6 separate regions of the Homo sapiens genome follow, and all the other regions are linked to region 2. Evidence: promoter capture Hi-C in 16 types of primary human blood cells and fetal thymus (Javierre and others, 2016). All regions are on one chromosome and are shown on one strand. Each heading gives the region's core, a stretch centred on a gene start or on the middle of the fragment in contact. The rest is flanking DNA. Distances are from core to core; before and after follow the strand shown.

Evidence for each region. The method cuts DNA at HindIII sites, captures the fragments that hold promoters and counts their contacts. A CHiCAGO score of 5 or more calls a contact.
Region 1: a contact is called between a fragment that was not itself captured here and the fragment with the promoter of CH25H in region 2, in 1 of 17 cell types (total CD8 T cells). The highest score is 5.1, in total CD8 T cells.
Region 3: a contact is called between a fragment that was not itself captured here and the fragment with the promoter of CH25H in region 2, in 2 of 17 cell types (activated CD4 T cells and neutrophils). The highest score is 5.9, in activated CD4 T cells.
Region 4: a fragment that was not itself captured here is called in contact with the fragment with the promoter of CH25H in region 2 in 1 of 17 cell types (activated CD4 T cells); the score reaches 5.3 in activated CD4 T cells.
Region 5: a contact is called between a fragment that was not itself captured here and the fragment with the promoter of CH25H in region 2, in 1 of 17 cell types (activated CD4 T cells). The highest score is 5.3, in activated CD4 T cells.
Region 6: a fragment that was not itself captured here is called in contact with the fragment with the promoter of CH25H in region 2 in 2 of 17 cell types (total CD8 T cells and erythroblasts); the score reaches 6.2 in total CD8 T cells.

What each region holds. Positions count from the first base shown.
Region 1 is chr10:88,895,573-88,898,272 of GRCh38, forward strand. All of the region lies in intron 1 of STAMBPL1 (STAM binding protein like 1), which reads left to right. Among named protein-coding and RNA genes, the nearest start is that of STAMBPL1, 17 kb to the left of the region's middle. The HindIII fragment of the contact is 2,544 bases long and covers 50-2,593 here.
Region 2 is chr10:89,206,015-89,208,714 of GRCh38, forward strand. It overlaps CH25H (cholesterol 25-hydroxylase), which reads right to left and starts at 1,303. Exons shown (of 1, transcript NM_003956.4): 1 at 1-1,303. The coding sequence starts at 1,278. The coding sequence ends at 460. RefSeq lists an enhancer at 1,075-1,144. The HindIII fragment of the contact is 3,745 bases long and covers 1-1,396 here.
Region 3 is chr10:88,873,118-88,875,817 of GRCh38, forward strand. No RefSeq gene overlaps it. Among named protein-coding and RNA genes, the nearest start is that of STAMBPL1, 5.8 kb to the right of the region's middle. The HindIII fragment of the contact is 7,787 bases long and covers 1-2,700 here.
Region 4 is chr10:88,805,595-88,808,294 of GRCh38, forward strand. The region is part of intron 1 of LIPM (lipase family member M); the gene reads left to right. Among named protein-coding and RNA genes, the nearest start is that of LIPM, 4.2 kb to the left of the region's middle. The HindIII fragment of the contact is 3,495 bases long and covers 1-2,700 here.
Region 5 is chr10:88,779,492-88,782,191 of GRCh38, forward strand. It overlaps LIPN (lipase family member N), which reads left to right. Exons shown (of 10, transcript NM_001102469.2): 10 at 1-135. Among named protein-coding and RNA genes, the nearest start is that of LIPN, 21 kb to the left of the region's middle. The HindIII fragment of the contact is 2,210 bases long and covers 306-2,515 here.
Region 6 is chr10:88,854,755-88,857,454 of GRCh38, forward strand. No RefSeq gene overlaps it. Among named protein-coding and RNA genes, the nearest start is that of ANKRD22, 4.3 kb to the left of the region's middle. The HindIII fragment of the contact is 2,500 bases long and covers 66-2,565 here.

The DNA.
Region 1 (2,700 bases), core at 72-2,571, 310 kb before region 2:
TTTCTTCCTGCAAGCTGGGAACTATAATGGAACTTTATTACCTCATTTAAGCTTTAGTTGAATTCTTCTGGAAAGCTATTGTTGTGCCTATTTAATAGATGAAGATAAGGTGCACAAAAAGGTTAAATAAGCTGCTGTAGCACTCCCAACTAGTGATAGAAACTGGCCCCTCCTAAAGTAGTATATGGCCCCCAAACCTGAGCTCTTCGTGCTAAGGGCACCGAACCACTTCATCTTGGTGGCTGGATAAAAAGTTTGTATTACACTATGCAAAATAATTATTTTATGGCCCAGTATGTGACTTTCTTGCACTCACAGTAGCCTAGATCTACCTCAAGGTAATTTAACACATGCATCAGGAGTGGTTTGTTTAATCATCTTTCCTGTAACAACTACATTCTTGCTCATTGATCTAATATAAACCATTCTGTTGTGACTGGTATATTTAATGTGGAATATACCTCTAGAAGTAACAGACAAGCACCTGGCACCTAGTAAATGATAATATATAGTACTTACAAATATAGGGAAAAAATCCAATAAAAGCTATTTCTAATATTATGATCATTTCGTTTTTATCTTATCAATATTTTAGTAAAGATAATTTATCATCTATGTCACAGCATATTTCTGATTGCAGATATTATAGAAGATAAGTGTAAAAACAAATCAATGTAATCTTTGCTTTTGATGTCTGAATTTTTAAAATCCTTCAAAAGGGACATGAAGGGTGGGCCTAGATTTATTTATTTTTCCTGAAGTAGGGCCCAATCTGTAAGACTGTGACTCAGGAGATCCTTCTTTGTGTCTCTGTCATTTAAGACATGGGAATGACCCTTTACCTCTCTTTATCTAAATCAGATTAGGTCATTGCAGCCTACAGGCTGAGTTACAATAATTTTCTTTGTCTACCTCCAACTGAGTAAATTGCACCATGTTCTTCCTGGAAAACATGACCACTAACCCAGTGGCTGTTGGTTTGGCCAATTAGAAATGAGACTGCTGGAGGTGGTATAAGGTGCTCTGTCCTCTCTTAACTGCCAATGGGCCACACCTACTTATCCAGGTCACTAGGGCACTCAAGTCAAAAGAAGTGCCTGGGAGAAAATGGCACATTTGGGTGATGGTCTCGCTGGCTGTTTACTGTATGCTGAGTCTCTTAGGAGACCGTTCACTGCCTGGTAATCATCTGCTTTCTGAATTCTGGAAAATATTTCTCTGTGGATGAAAATGGGTCAGGATTCTGAACTTTGCCACACACACACAAACACACACATACATGCACGCACGCACACACACACACTATTTTAAGAAAAAGAAAGAAAGAAAAGAAAAGGAAATTAAGGCTGAAAAAATCACAAAATAAGCACCATGCTAGGTCAGATATTTTCCTCTGTTCATTCTTGCATTGTTTGCTGCTGATTTTAAAGGGCAGAATTGTTGAGACTCTTCCATGTTTCCATGGGGGACTTCAGACTTGGAAACATTGCAGGGACACAAAAGCCAAGAGGATTTTGCTATGGTTATGTAGAGAATAAACTGTTACAAGCTCAGAGCTGTGAAATACCAATTTGGAGAGGATACTTACCCCCTCCCAGGCCACTTATGGATGAGACAGCATTTTGGCCACATCCCCTCTGGGCACAGTCGACTGCTCAGTTGGTTCTGGGAGCTACTTGTTAGCTGAATCTCTGGGACAGGGGTTGGCCTCCATGTGCTCATTGTGAATATGTATGGTTCTGACACCATGATTCCCCACATTCTTGTGAGTCGGATTAACAGAAAGCAGACACTCCCCTACTCCTCTATAAAAGGTCAGATTAAAGAAAAAAAATGATGATGTCTTTGGAGGTTATGGTCAGGAAAAGGGGCTAGCAATAAAAGCAAGAAGGCAAGAGCTCTGAAGCAAGAACTCTGAAGAGATATCTTAGAGGTTAAACAGATCACAAGGCTGTAGTTCAGATGATCAGATGTTATCAAGCCACAAGAATGTGAGGTAGAGGTCAGGGAGTAGGCTGAGATTAAAGCGGGCGTTTCTGATGAATGTTTTCCATTAGTTTTAAGCCACTCTAAAAGCAGCGAAGTGTGGCTGTGACAAGCGCCCTGCCGAATGAGTAAAGTAAACCTTGGAGGGGGCTCAGTAAAGGATATTTAGCAAGCAAATGATAGAGCCTAGACTCAACACCCAGGCTTATCTCACTCCAAAGGCTGTTTGCACCGTGTGCTTTGTAGCACTTTGGACCTCCACTTTGGAGGGGGAATTTATTTTATTCTTGCATGATACTGAATACTTCCCATTAGTTAGCATCTGTGGATCTCAAGTACTATGAGGTGAAGTACCTCTTACTGTACCCTCAGTTCAAATTTTCTAATTGTTTTAGTAAGACCACAGTAGCACAAATGGCAAGTGGTACTTGCTGTTAATTTTTCCTGTTTTAGATTCTCCTGGCCCACTTTATTTCTGATTAGATTGAGGTAGCATAGTGAGTTTTTGTTTTGTTTATTCATTTGCATTGTTGATCTAGAGCCGTGGTTTTCAGACTTTATTGGTCTTGGAACCCCTTTACACTCTTAATTACTAAGGACACTAAAAAGCTTTGTTTATGTGAGTTATATCTATTTATATTTACTGTATTAAAAATCAAAACAGACATTTATAAGAGTATGCAAGTAAGCATTCCATTAACTCTTGTACCCTCT
Region 2 (2,700 bases), core at 53-2,552:
AAATATAAGAAGGTACTATAATTCTTGGTCACTGTCCAGCAGAAACATGTTTGATTGCTTTTAGAGTCAGAAGTCAACACCATCCACAAAAATACATTCTTTTAGCCAGGTTTTAGAACACTTTGAAACATAGAAAATTCCTTATTCTACAAACAAGTCCTTTTAGAGATATTCTAAATATGCCAGTGATGAATGTCTAATTCATATGCAGGATTCAAGGCTATTGAGGTGAGCTAGACTAAGAATACCAAGAACACAAAATTGTATTGATACACAAACAGTATGTAAATTACTTTGTCAGATTACAAAAATGCATCAGATTTTATCTATGGTTTTCATAGATAAACATAAAGCAATAAGTTAGTTGCTTTAAAAAAATATATAGCTCAGGTGTTTCTCTTCATTCAAGTGTGAAAGGCACAGCAGTCCCGAGTCTTAGGGGCACCCACCGCAGCCACATCACCGCGCTGGGACAGATGCAGTCCGCAGCGTTCCCAGTATTTTGTCCCAGTGTGTAAAGTACGGAGCGAAGTTGCAGTTAAAGTGAGAGTGATGCAGGTCGTGGTGCACCACACCCCCGTACCACCCGAAGGGCACCAGTCTGTGAGTGGACCAAGGGAAGTTGTAGCCGGAGTGGTCCTCCACGGAAAGCCAGATGTTGACCACGTGGAAGGTCAGGGTGGTGAGCGGGTGGCACCCGAGCAGTGTGACGTTCATCATGTCGAAGAAGCCCAAAGAAAACAGTTCCCAGACGCTCATATACTGCGTTGCCAGCGCGAACGAGGACGAGTTCTGGTGGTGCACCTTGTGGAAGGTGCGGTACAGCCAGGGCACCTTGTGGTGCAGCAGGTGCCACACGAAGAACTCCATGTCGAAGAGTAGCAGGCAGAACAGGATGTGGTGCAGCAGCAGGAGCAGCTCGGGAGCTTCGTGGGGCAGGAGGGCCGGGCTGCGGGCCCAATGCAGCAGCGTCACGGGGAACACAAACATCACATGCTGGTAGAGGGTCTGCCCCAGGCAAGGTAGCAGCTGCTGCGCGGATGGCGAGAAGTCAGGGTGGATCTTGTAGCGCCGCAGGGCGGGCACCCAGGAGCACAGGATATCCAGGACCACGAAGGGCAGGCAAAAGCCCACGTATGTGGTGATGGAGAAGATGACCGGGAAGAAGGGCGACTGTAGGAGGGCCTCCCAGCTCCTCAGGTGGTCCCAGAGGGGCTGCAGGAACAGCTGCCCGGAGCTGCAAAGGACCTGGGGGTCGGAGCAGTTGTGGCAGCTCATTGCGAGGCTGTGCAAGGCAGCTGAGGCTGCTGCTCGAGTCCCATCGACTTTTCACAGGACTCACGGCCCCGCCCCGAGTGATGTCAGCTGCCTTTCCATCCCTTTCCCGGCGATGCGAAGCTTGAATAAGCTAGCAACCCGGCAGAGTGGCCCTTCATTGCTGTAAATGTGCTCATCTATAGCCGCATCTTACCGGCTTTTAGATATGCGTGTATGCAGTGGCACTTCGTACTTTTCATGTAAGTTCTGATTTTTCAGTTGACGTACAATTAACACGGGACACAATGTACAGATCTACCGTGTGGAGTTTCTATGAGTTTGGCAACTCAGTTCACGTGTGTCATCACGGGTCTCAAACTAGACCGTTTACATTGCCACCAGAAAGCGCTCCTTTGCAATCAATGCAGAATTGTTTGTGTTTTTTAATGCATACGTATAACTGCATCCATGTGCTTTCATAAAGACGCAAGCATAATCGCATTTTAAAAACTGTTTAAAGCTACATGCGGTCTGTAGCTCGGGTGTTTTCTGAGAACCCGGTTGCGGTCTATCCAGCGGCGATCGAGAAACGAGCCCTTTGCACAGGGAACCGCTGGTCCCCGAACGCCGGCGGTGACCGTCAGCTCAGGAAATCAGACGGGAAGGGTGGCCGGATGGGAACCTCCGCCAGCTCCAGCTTGTCCCCAGAGTTTTCCTGGCCGGCGGGCAGCAAGCTAGAGAGACCACGCACGCAGGCTCTCCGGGAGAGGCCGCAGCCCGGCCGCGTAGCTACCCTCGGCGGCGCGTCCCGGGGCGCCGGGCCCGCGATCGGAGCCGGAGGCACCGCACAGCGGAAAGAGGGCTCCGCGGCGGCCAGGCTCAGCTTTGCCGGGAAAATGCTGGATTTAACTCCCAGTCTGCGCCAATCTGGCTAAAAAGCCCGTTGTATCTCAATTTGGGGCGGGAACACTTAATTCAGCAAACCACCTGCGTTGTTCGTCAAGGGAAAGAGATGTGAGTTCCTGAAGCCTCCCGGGAGGCTATTGAAGGACCAGGTGATGTCGTCACTACCCTACCCTTCCCCTTGTTGGCTTTGCGGGGCCAACTTGCAGTCGCCCTCTGCCACCGGTCCTTGAATCCACTCCGGGCCCACGGAGCCCGGCTAGGGGGCTAGTCTCTATCCCCTGCGTTTCTCCGCCACCCATCTGGGGTCCTCGGGCCAGGGGCCACCGAGCACAAGGAGGTCGGTACTAGGAGAGCTCTTGAGAGACCCTGGGAACAGCACAAAAATCCTCGCGTTCAACCCGGGGTCTGACACATGACACGATACAAGGGCCCCTTAGGGGATAGACGTTTTAGACACCAGCTTTGAAGCCAGGGAGCACTCCTAATTCTTGCTTAGTGTCTTGTATCTATGTGGTTGTGTCCAGCCCTTTACTCCTT
Region 3 (2,700 bases), core at 197-2,696, 330 kb before region 2:
GTTGCATTTTAAGATAGCATTATTTACTCCAGTAAAATATCCAGTGGTCACATTTTTCTTTAAACAGATTTTTTTTTCCTGACCAAAGAAAATTTAAATACCGATACAGTGCCATCTTGTATATCTACCACTTTTCTTTTAAAAGGAAGCTGCTCAAACCTACTGTATAGGTGTTAAATAATAGCAAAAGTCTATGATGGAAGGATTTCTGTTGCACCGGAGCAGCCCCAGGGGAGATGCAATTTTTACAGAGTATATTTATATATTTTGATTGTGGGGATCAGATGCTGTTCTATGACCTCCCGCCAGGTCTCCTTCCACCTTTCTGCCCTTGTAAACATATATTTTACATTTGTAAATCAGCCTGCAAAAAAGGTATTTTAAAAAAATCTAACACCCCAAACACTATTAATATTTGGTCCACATTTACCAATGCCTTATGTACCTAAATCGAAGGGGTTAAATAATATCAGCAGAAAAGAGAATTTACATTTTTCATCAAATGTCTGCCTGTATATTGAAATGTTTACTAGTAGTAAGCCTTATATTAATATCTGCAAAGCACATAATTTTTCAGAATGCTTTTTCACTTCCTTCATAACTACCTTAAGAGCAATCCAGAGCCATTATTCCCCGTTTTCAAATGGGAAAAAATAAGCTCAGGTAGCTTAGGTCCAGGACAATTTGCAAATGGCAGCAGAGGAAAAGATTCCATGTATTTCCCAAACCTCATTCAGTATCTGGATATGGGGACATAATGGATACAAAATTGTCTTAGTTTAAAGTAACAGGAAGAAAGCACCAAAATAAATCACATGAGTGGAAAAAATTAACTGTGCCTGCCATTTCCAGTTTTGGAGCAATTGAGTTGCTTCCTGCATTTAATGACACGGGCTAAATTACCATAGTTATAATTCCTCAAATAAAAAAATAGGTTATTTGGAACTTATTACTCTTTAATAGCATAGACCAGTGTTTCTCAAACGTTTTGGCCTAAAGGTTTCTTTATGTTTTTAAAAACTATCTTTAAAAATGATTCAGGATTCCAGAGAGCTTTTGTTTCTGTGGGTTATATCTACCCATGTTTACTGCATTGAAAAATAAAGCAAAAACTTTAAACATATTTTATTAATTTATTTAAAAATAGTAAATTAATGACGTTAAACTAAATAAATATTCACATTTTTATTACAATTTATTTCCCAAAACGAAACAAAAATTAGTGAGAAAACTGTCATTGCTTTCTATTTTTACAAATATATTTTGAGTCTGGCTTAAGGATGACTGGATTCTCCTATCTGCATTTGCATTCTAGTTGTGGTGATATCATACGTGTAGCTGACACACTCCACTGCAAATCCATGAGAATGACAGTGAAAAAGCCAAATAATGTGTTTGTGGTTTTTTTTTTTAAATAGTTTTGATCTTACAGGCTGTCAGGGATCCCTAAGCCATATTTTGAGAACTACTGATAAAAACAATAACAAAGCCAGAATTTTAAAAATATGTGTTTTCAATAATATAACAATTTCTGAGGCACATACTTTAAAGTGCATAATAATCTCTGAGAAGGATATTTTTTTCCAGTAGAATCATTTGAGTCTTAGTTCTTTTCTTTCCCTGGATGCTTTGTCTTTAGAGATAATCCAGAGCCTGGAAATTCTAAATTTAAAACAAAGAACAAGGACTCCAGCCTATCTGGTGTCAGCAAGAACAGTCAATGAGAACCACCACTTTGTGTGCATACACCAAACGATTCCAGTACAGTATATGAAAATAGTTTTAATCTCCTGACTAAGGTAAATTCAACACTAAATATTCTCTTTTTGTACCATCAGTTCGAAGAAATAAGATCCTAGTAGGGCATTGCCAGATGGGGAGACGAGAGATTACTCCAAGCTCATGGCCTTTGGGGTACCTTAAAGATAGAGTGACAGACCTCCATATTAAGACCAGTCAGAGGCAGGAAAGGTCCTCTTTGTCTTGAATACCAACACTTTGAGGCTATGGCAGCTTCTCAGAACAGATCTAGCTCTGATGTTGTAGAACAGAAAAAAATCTGAGTGCTGGCTCCATATTTCCCTTTCAGTGAGAAAGGCATTAATGTCTTGTCACTTGTCATCAGTTGGGAAATGCTCAAATGCAGCATTAGTTAATGAACCTATTTAGAATGTAATGGCCTATTTCCATGTATGGCATAAACTAAGCAAATGACAGGGGAGACACAATCACTCAATTCATCACTCTTCTTTATGAAATAATGTGCCTTTCCTTCCTTCCTCTCTTCTTTATTCTTACCTTTGTCCTTTTCTCAAATATTTATATTGTACCCATCATGAATGAGGTACTGTGGCAGATTCCACTTCATATTTATCTGGCTGCCAAATCTGTTTTCTTTTTTTTTTTCAATTTTTTATTTTTGGAGACATGGTCTCATTCTTTTGCCCAGGCTAGAGCCCAATGGCAGTATCACAGCTCATGGCAGCCTCAACCTCCCAGGCTCAGGTGATTCCCCCACGTCTGCCTCCTGAGTAGCTGGGACTACAGTGTGCACCATCATACCTGGCTAATTTTTTGTATTTTTAGTAGAGGCTGGTCTTGAATTCCTGGGCTCACGTGATCCACCCACCTCAGCCACCCAAAGGGCTAGGATTACAGGCATAAGCCACCACGCCAGGACTGTTTATGTTTTAATTACTA
Region 4 (2,700 bases), core at 189-2,688, 400 kb before region 2:
TTGTTTTCTTAAGAAGAAATGTCATGCACAATTTACTATTTTCCAACGTTTTTTCTGCTAAACAATGTATATCATGAAGAATTTCCCAACGTTTTAAATACCCTTCTACAACATCATTTCACCTTGCTGCATTATGTTCCATTTTTTTAAATAAGTATTTGCCCCAGGTTGGATTTTCTGGGGGACAGACTCTGAGGCAGAATTCATACAATAATGTTTATTAAGGAGAATCATCATCATCGCCTGTGGAAAGGAAGTAGAGAATCAGGAGTAAGGAAAGAGATAAATCAAACTGTGATACAGACTTCAAAACAGCCAGACTCAACTCCATGAGGAGCTATGGAGCTAAAACTGCTCTTCAGAGATGTCCTACGTTGGGCTGAGATGACCAGGCCTTTAGACCGCAAACAGGTCAGTCACTGGATGTGGCAGGAAGGGACGTGAACTTGGAGGAAGTGGCTTTCTACAGCTAAGGCCATTCCTACAGAAAATGACAGCCAAGGGTGATCTGTTGACAGCACTTCCAGTGGATGGGACCAGTCCTTTATTGCCTGCATAAATTTTCCTGCCAAGTATAGCATGTTGACCATCTTGCCACCTGTAGACAATGTTTGCAGCATTTGTAGTTCTTTTTCTTCTCAGATGTCCATGTCCCTATCCCTACCTCCTTGGCTCTTTTGAGCAACTTCTATTCAATCCTCAAGGCCCAGTTCAAATTCTTCCTCCATAAGACCTTGCCTGTCCAGCCCTGCTCATTTTGCTCCTCCTGCTCAGAATTCCTTTGCTCCTTCCTTCACTCTCATCCTTCATCCCTCATCTGACACATTACACATATCCTCTCAATAACTACTTGTCAGATGTCCTCCATTCTCATGTTTTTATATATATTTAACTCCCCAAATAGTTGACAACAGTGGTTCCTGAAGGATAGTTGTCAGATCAGCAACATCTGCTTTGCCTGGGAACTTGTATATCAATTTTTTGGGTTCCACACAGACCTGCTGTATCAGACTGTGAGTGGGGTCCCGCAATTTGTGTTTTAACAAACCCTCTAAGTAATTCTGATGCATGCTAAAATTTGAGACACTTCTATAAATTTTTTTTTCTTTGAGATGGAGTCTCCCTCTGTCACCAGGTTGGAGTGCAGTGGCGCGATCTTGGCTCACTGTAACCTCCGCCTCCCAGATTCAAGCAATTCCTCTTCCTCAGCCTCCCAAGTAGCTAGGACTATAGGCATGCACCACCACGCCCGGCTAATTTTTTTTATTATTATTTTAGTAGAGATGGTGTTTCACCATGTTGGCCAGGATGGTCTCGATCTCCTGACCTTGTGATCCACCCACCTCAACCTCCCAAAGTGCTGGGATTACAGGTGTGAGCCACTGTGCCCGGCCTATACATTTTTTTAAGGTTAAGTATACAATGGTGTCTCACACACATACATGCACACATATACACTGCATTCCATAATATTCGGTTAATTGAGTTTTAATTATAGTGGTAGTTAATGCTTATTGAGTTCCTACTATGTGCTGGGAATTACAGTTAGTGTTATATGTGCATTATCTTTTTGCATTTATTGCAACAGTCCCATGGAGTATGAACCATTAGAATTCCTAATTTACAGATGCATGAACTGAAGCATAGGAGCAGTTTAACTAAATTTCTCAAGATTATACAGCTAGTTTATGTAATAGTGTTAGAACCAGTGTTAAAACTCAAACAGTGGGACCCAGGAGCTTTCTCCTAATGACTATGCTTTGTTTTTGCCCTATATTCTACCTGGGCATGTGATGTTTGGCCTTCTCTCTTGCTCTTTTTTAAAGCAGCCCCTGATGCAAATGGTTCTCTCCTTCTCTCTGAGTGATAACAATGGGCAAGAATAGTGAGGATGCTTAGAAGATATTTGCAGCTACAAATTTTCCAGAGAATGTCTACATGTAACTACTGTATAGAGTAAGGATTCTTAACCAGGGGTTCGTATGTAGGCAACAAGATATCTGAAACTCCTGAAATTGAATGCAAAACCATGTTTTTGTATCCATTGTATATCCATTTTTATAGTTCTCCTCAAATTCACAGAGGGAACTTTAACCTGAAAATGTTAGGAATCAATGCTCTTGAGTCTGTGGTTTTAGAACTGGAAAGAACCTTAGGAAATGCATGGCCCAGGAATGCTCATAAGTTGTCCTGGAACAGGTGCCCCACTGGCTGCTTTAGAACCATCTTATCTGTAACCTGAAGTGGGCTCAAGACTCTGTATGTTTCAATGCCCAGAAGATTCTGATGCACAACGAGGTTTTGGAATCAATGTTCTGATCCAGTGGTTCTCAAACATTAGGGTACATCAAAATTCCCTAAAGAGCTTGAGACACAAACTGCTGGGCCCAGTCCTCTGAGTTCCTGATTCAGTAGGTTTGGTTGGAATTTGCATATCTAACAGATTAGTCCAAGTGATGCTGATGCCTTTGTCCCAAGGCCCATACTTTGAGAACCATAATTCTATTCCGGTTTCCATATTAAGACAAAGAAAGTAAGGACTAGAGAGGGTTAGCAGATTTTTCTAAGGTAACATGATTAGCTAGGGAAAAGCAAGGACTTTCACTGTGTTTTACAGCATCAAGGAATCTACTCTTACTTTTGGATCATTGAGAATATGGCCACAGAGAACTGAACCTAAAAGAAATTGTGCTTTTTCCA
Region 5 (2,700 bases), core at 161-2,660, 430 kb before region 2:
AAAATGAAACTGGTAGAACTATGTGATTGCAAATATATACAAATATTAAAACAATTATATGACTTTATAAAATATTTGTATATAATGAAAACTGAAGCAATATAAAAAATAAAATTAGTTGTGTCAGGGTAGTAACATGATGAGTGATTAATAGTTTTTAATTTTTAATATAGTAATGACATAATGTTACAACTTGTCCAAATCTCACAAACATAATATTCAGTAAAGGAAGATAAACATAAAAGAATACATATTTTATTATACATTTTTATGTAGGCTAATTGATGGTTCTGAAAGCCTTAAAAAGCTTACTTTTAGGAGGAGAATCATGCCTTGGAGGACTCTAGGGTCCAGAAAAATGTCCTAATACTAGAGCTAGGTGCAGTCAGATTAATTATAATACATTTCATTATTTTGTCTGGAATACCAAGATGACTTCCAAGCAGGAATGGAGTCTAGCAACACTTTACTGATGGGGAACTTGGCCACAGACTTGTAATACAAATTTTTGGATATGTTGACAATGTTTCTCCTTATTTTTCTTACTTATACAAAGCAAGAAATTTGGCTCACAACCTTGAAACAGACTTACCAGGTTCCTCCAGTTTCCCAAGCCTCAATATCTCATTGCTATTTTTAATAGAACAAGGTAAATAATAACATGAATGTTATTCAATACAAATTGATGTCAAATGTAAATTCTGACTCAGAACATTGGTGAATTTCTTTCAATCGGTATAATCAATCAGTTTCAGAGAGGCGAAGTCTTGCTCAAGTGACAGCCTTTTTGAGACTCATTAACCAAAGAACAAGGCACGTGTTTCACCATCAGGGCTTTGTTCAACTTTGATCACCTCTGCATTCTCCTCTCATAGGAAGGTTACCCACATTTTCCAAGGTCTGGCCACAATACCACCATTTCTGAAACGTTTTGCCTGAACTATATGTTCTAGAATTACTGTTCCCTCTTCTAAATCACTTTTTTTTTTTAGACAGGGTTTCACTGTTGCCCAGTGAAGTTGCCCAGGCTGGAGTACAATGGTGCGATCTCAGTTCACTGCAACCTCTGCCTCCTAGGTTCTAGCAATTCTCCTGCCTCAGCCTCCCAAGTAGCTGGGAGTACAGGTGCCCATCACATGCCCAGCTAATTTTTTGTATTTTTAGTAGAGATAGGGTTTCACTATGTTGGCCAGGCTGATCTCGAACTCCTGACCTCAGGCAATCCACCCCGCCTCGGCCTCTCAAAGTGCTGGGATTACAGGCATGAGCCACCGCGCCCAGCTTAAATCACTTTTTATTATGCTTCTGAATTATCTTTTTGGAGAGTTCTGTGTAAGTCTACTGCCCTAATAAATTTTAAGTAGCTTGAAAACAGAAGCATTTAAGATATAGAACTCTCCATTACCACACTAAATTCACTTTTGCTATTCCTTTATGGTCAACCACCACTACCACCATGACCAGCTCTCCTTGAACTTGATCCCTGACAACTTATCTGTTCTCCATTGCTATAATGTCTTATAAATAAAATCATGGAGTATGTGGCCTTGATATTGGCTTTTTTTTACTCAGCATGATGTCCTTGAGATCTATCCAAGTTGTTGCATATATCAAGTTTGTTCCTCCTTATTGCTGAATAGCATTGCACGGTATGCATGCACCACAGTTTGTTTAACTATTCACTCACTGAAAAACACGTGGGTTATTTCCAAGTTTTGGCTTTATCTTTTTGGTGTTTCACTGCTTAATGGCATGTCTTGAAAATAAAAAAAAAAACACTCCGCTCAGATTCATTAATTTGACTTAATTGCAAGTCCCACCCAAAGCTAAATTTTCTGTGCTAATACCTTTTGTAATCTGTACACTGCCTCAAGGGAAAATGTTACTCAAGTCAGAGTTCCCATTGACTTGACTACACAATCCTTGATTCATATTTTAATTTGGCATTTAGAGATTGCAAAACAGTGACGTGGTTCTCATTACATTTTTGAGTTCTAATGTGATTTAAGAAGTGCTTTGGAGTAGGGTGAAAACAGATTGCTAGTATTTATACCTTGATTGACTATGAAGTCCTTCCTCCAGCCATTGTCAAGATGTGACATGTCTTTAGCTCTGTCAAAACCTCCATCAGCATCATCATATCTCCCACAGAGCCAAACCAAATAAAAGTAATCACAGTAATAATAGTGTGCAATCATTAAAAATCTATGTGAAGTATTAATATAAAACACCAACAATTTTTAGTATATAGATATAAAAAGGTAAATTCTATAAAAACAGTACGCTTTCTATGGAATGCACCTTCAAGAAAGTTTCATCATTCTCCTCCATTCTATTTCCTATAAGATTGTCCATAAATTCCATTTATGGAGGAATTCTGGAGTCAAACCTTTCTTCTTTTTGTACCTTCTACACATATTGGCCATTTTAGTTGGTGTGTGAATTTCTTTCCTTATCAAAGCAGTCAACTTAGCTAAGAAAGATTATTTATTTGGGATATGATGTGGCCTTAATAAGCTTAATCAAAATAAGCACTTGTATGGTATTTGATAGCACAACAGGGTGACTATAGTCAATAATTTAATTGTACATTTAAAAATAACTAAGAGTATAATTGGATGGTTTGTAACACAAAGGATAAATGCTTGAGGTGATGAGTACCCTATTTACCCTGATGTGATTATATATTATATGACTGTA
Region 6 (2,700 bases), core at 66-2,565, 350 kb before region 2:
GGGGGCCATAGGATGGAAGAAGAGACCAAGGCAAGTTTTAGAGCAGGAGCGACAGTTTATTAAAAAGCTTTAGAGCAGGAATAAACAAAGTAAAGTACATTTGGAAGAGGACCAAGTGGGCAACTTGAAAGACAAGTGTGCAGTTTGACTTTTGACTCGGGGTTTTTATACGTTGGCATACTTCCAGGGTCCTGCATTCCTTCTCCCCTGATTCTGCCCTTTGGTGGGCTGTCCACATGTGCAGTGGCCCACCAGGATTTGGGAGGGGAGCATGCACAGTGTGTTTACTGGAGTTGTATGCATGCTTACTTGAAGCACTCTTCTCTTACCAGCTGAATGTCCCTAGAAGGTAATATACCAGTTAAACTCTGCCATTCTGCCTCTTAATGTGCATGCTTGAACCCACTCGCCCAACTCCTGAGATCTTATCAGGAAGCTGCTGATCACCAGTTTCAAGTTTTTTCTGTCTATTGGGAGACTGCCTTTCCCTGGCACTGGCTGTGACCAATTGTTATTTTATATATATATATATATATATATATATATATATAATTTTTTTTTTTTTGAGATGGAGTCTTGCTCTGTTGCCCAGGCTGGAGTGCAGTGGTACAATCACAGCTCATTACAACCTCCACCTCCCAGGTTCAAGCGATTCTCCTGCCTCAGCTTCCAGAGTCGCTGGGATTACAGACACCTGCCACCTGTATTTTTGTATTTTTAGTAGAGACGGGGTTTCACCATGTTGGCCAGGCTGGTCTCAAACTCCTGACCTGAGGTGATCTGCCCACCTCGACCTCCTAAAGTGCTGGAATTGCAAGCATGAGCCACCACGCCTGGCCCTCAACTATTATTTTAGAGAGACGGTTAACAACCTCCTTACTATCACCTGATGTTCACCTGACATTCCTGGTGGGTGGGGGGAGCCCTCTCCTACTCTGCTCATGTCTGACTAGCTACTTACTGTAAAATTGGCTCCCATTGGAGAGATTTGAGTAGAGGAGTGTTGTAATCAGAATTTTATTTATATAATAAAGCTCACTCTGGCTGTTGTACAGAGAGTGGATCTGAGGCAGGAAAAAAGAAACAGCAACTAGTTAGGAGGTTATTGCATTAGGTCAGCTGCATGATAATAGTTACCTGGGGCAGAAGAGCAGCAGTGTGGATAGAGAGAATAGGATAAACTCTAGAGTTTAGGAGGTAGAAATAACAGACTTTGCCAACTATGAGTTATTAAGCTATCTCCTAGCATTGAACACACTTTTCTATGTTTGGTTCTTCAATGCCTACCCTGGCATTCTGCAAGCTAGCTTTTTTTTTTTCCTACTGGTATGTGGAGACAAAATTAACTTCATCTTGGATGCTAATCCACCATGTTGACTTCTCATTAACCCCAGTCCCATAAATGCCTTCGGATTCCTACTTTATTTACTGTCCTTAGTGTAAGAACACATACTTACTGTAAATCCTGCCTTTAGACCAAAGCAAACTTGATGTTATCACACAAATATAGGTTATGATGCACACAGCACTCTTGCCTGTTCTGGGGGGTTGTCTTTAATTGTCTCTATAGAGCATGTATCCCCTTTCCTTATGATATATAAGCCCGGGGTCTGGGGTGTATTGGTGTGGAGATCTATTTGTCTTGCTACTGCAGGCCACACTTCTGTCTGTAAGTTCCCCCAATAAATTACCCTTTATCAAAAAACTGATTTTGTCTGCCTTATTATTTGGTTTCTTGGCTCCTTCCTTGTTTGGAGATTGCTTTGCATATATGACCCTTTCTTGAAACCTGGTCTATTTTCTAAGGAGCACTCCATGTGAGATTACAACGCTAAAGAGGGAGAAAGAGATCTACTCATTTCTATATGCTTGCAATCCTATCGGCCTCATCCCACCAATAGCTCTTCATCCAAGAAAAAGCAATTGATCGAGCTTATTTTCCACATTCCCAGAACCAGCCTATTTATACCTTTCAGAGGTGCCCAGCACTAATTGTTTCTCTCCCCGAACCCAAATTCATGCAATTCCTTCCTTGCGATTCTGAGGTATGAGCAGCTACCAAGAAATGGCCCCTCCTCAAGGCCTGGGGCCCAGAATTTCAAGGCCCTTTTCTCTCCTAAGTTCTAATAACCCCAACCTCACTCTGTTCCCTCAGTCCAAGGGGTGGTAGCTGTTCCTGCAATTCTATCTCTGTGTTACCTTAATATTCTCTTTTTACTTTCTAGTCTTCCAATACCTACTTAACCAATTCCAGACATTCAATTCTTTGTGTTTAAATAACTAGGTTGTTTTCTTTACTTAAGTTGGACTAACATAGTACTATGGAGATGTTTAGAAGCTAGAAATAACAGAATTATCCATCTGATATAAGATACATGGGAAATGGCAGAACAAGGATAATATGCATGTATCTGGCTTTGGAAATTTGGTAGATTTTTATCTTTCAAAGAAAACTCTGGAAGAGCAAGATTAGGGAAAGCCTGGGAAGAGATGATTAGCTCAGGTATGCACAAATTTTATTTAAGGAACATATTTCTAGCACACTAAGTGGAGATGCCAATAGAAAGCTTGTTATATGATTCTGGAGTTTTAGAGTAAGGGTTACACTAGAGATTAAGCTTTTTGAGGGTCATTAGCATTAGATTAATAATCCTCAATGTAAGAAATAGAAGAGTTGGGAAACCTTATTAAAGTTATTTT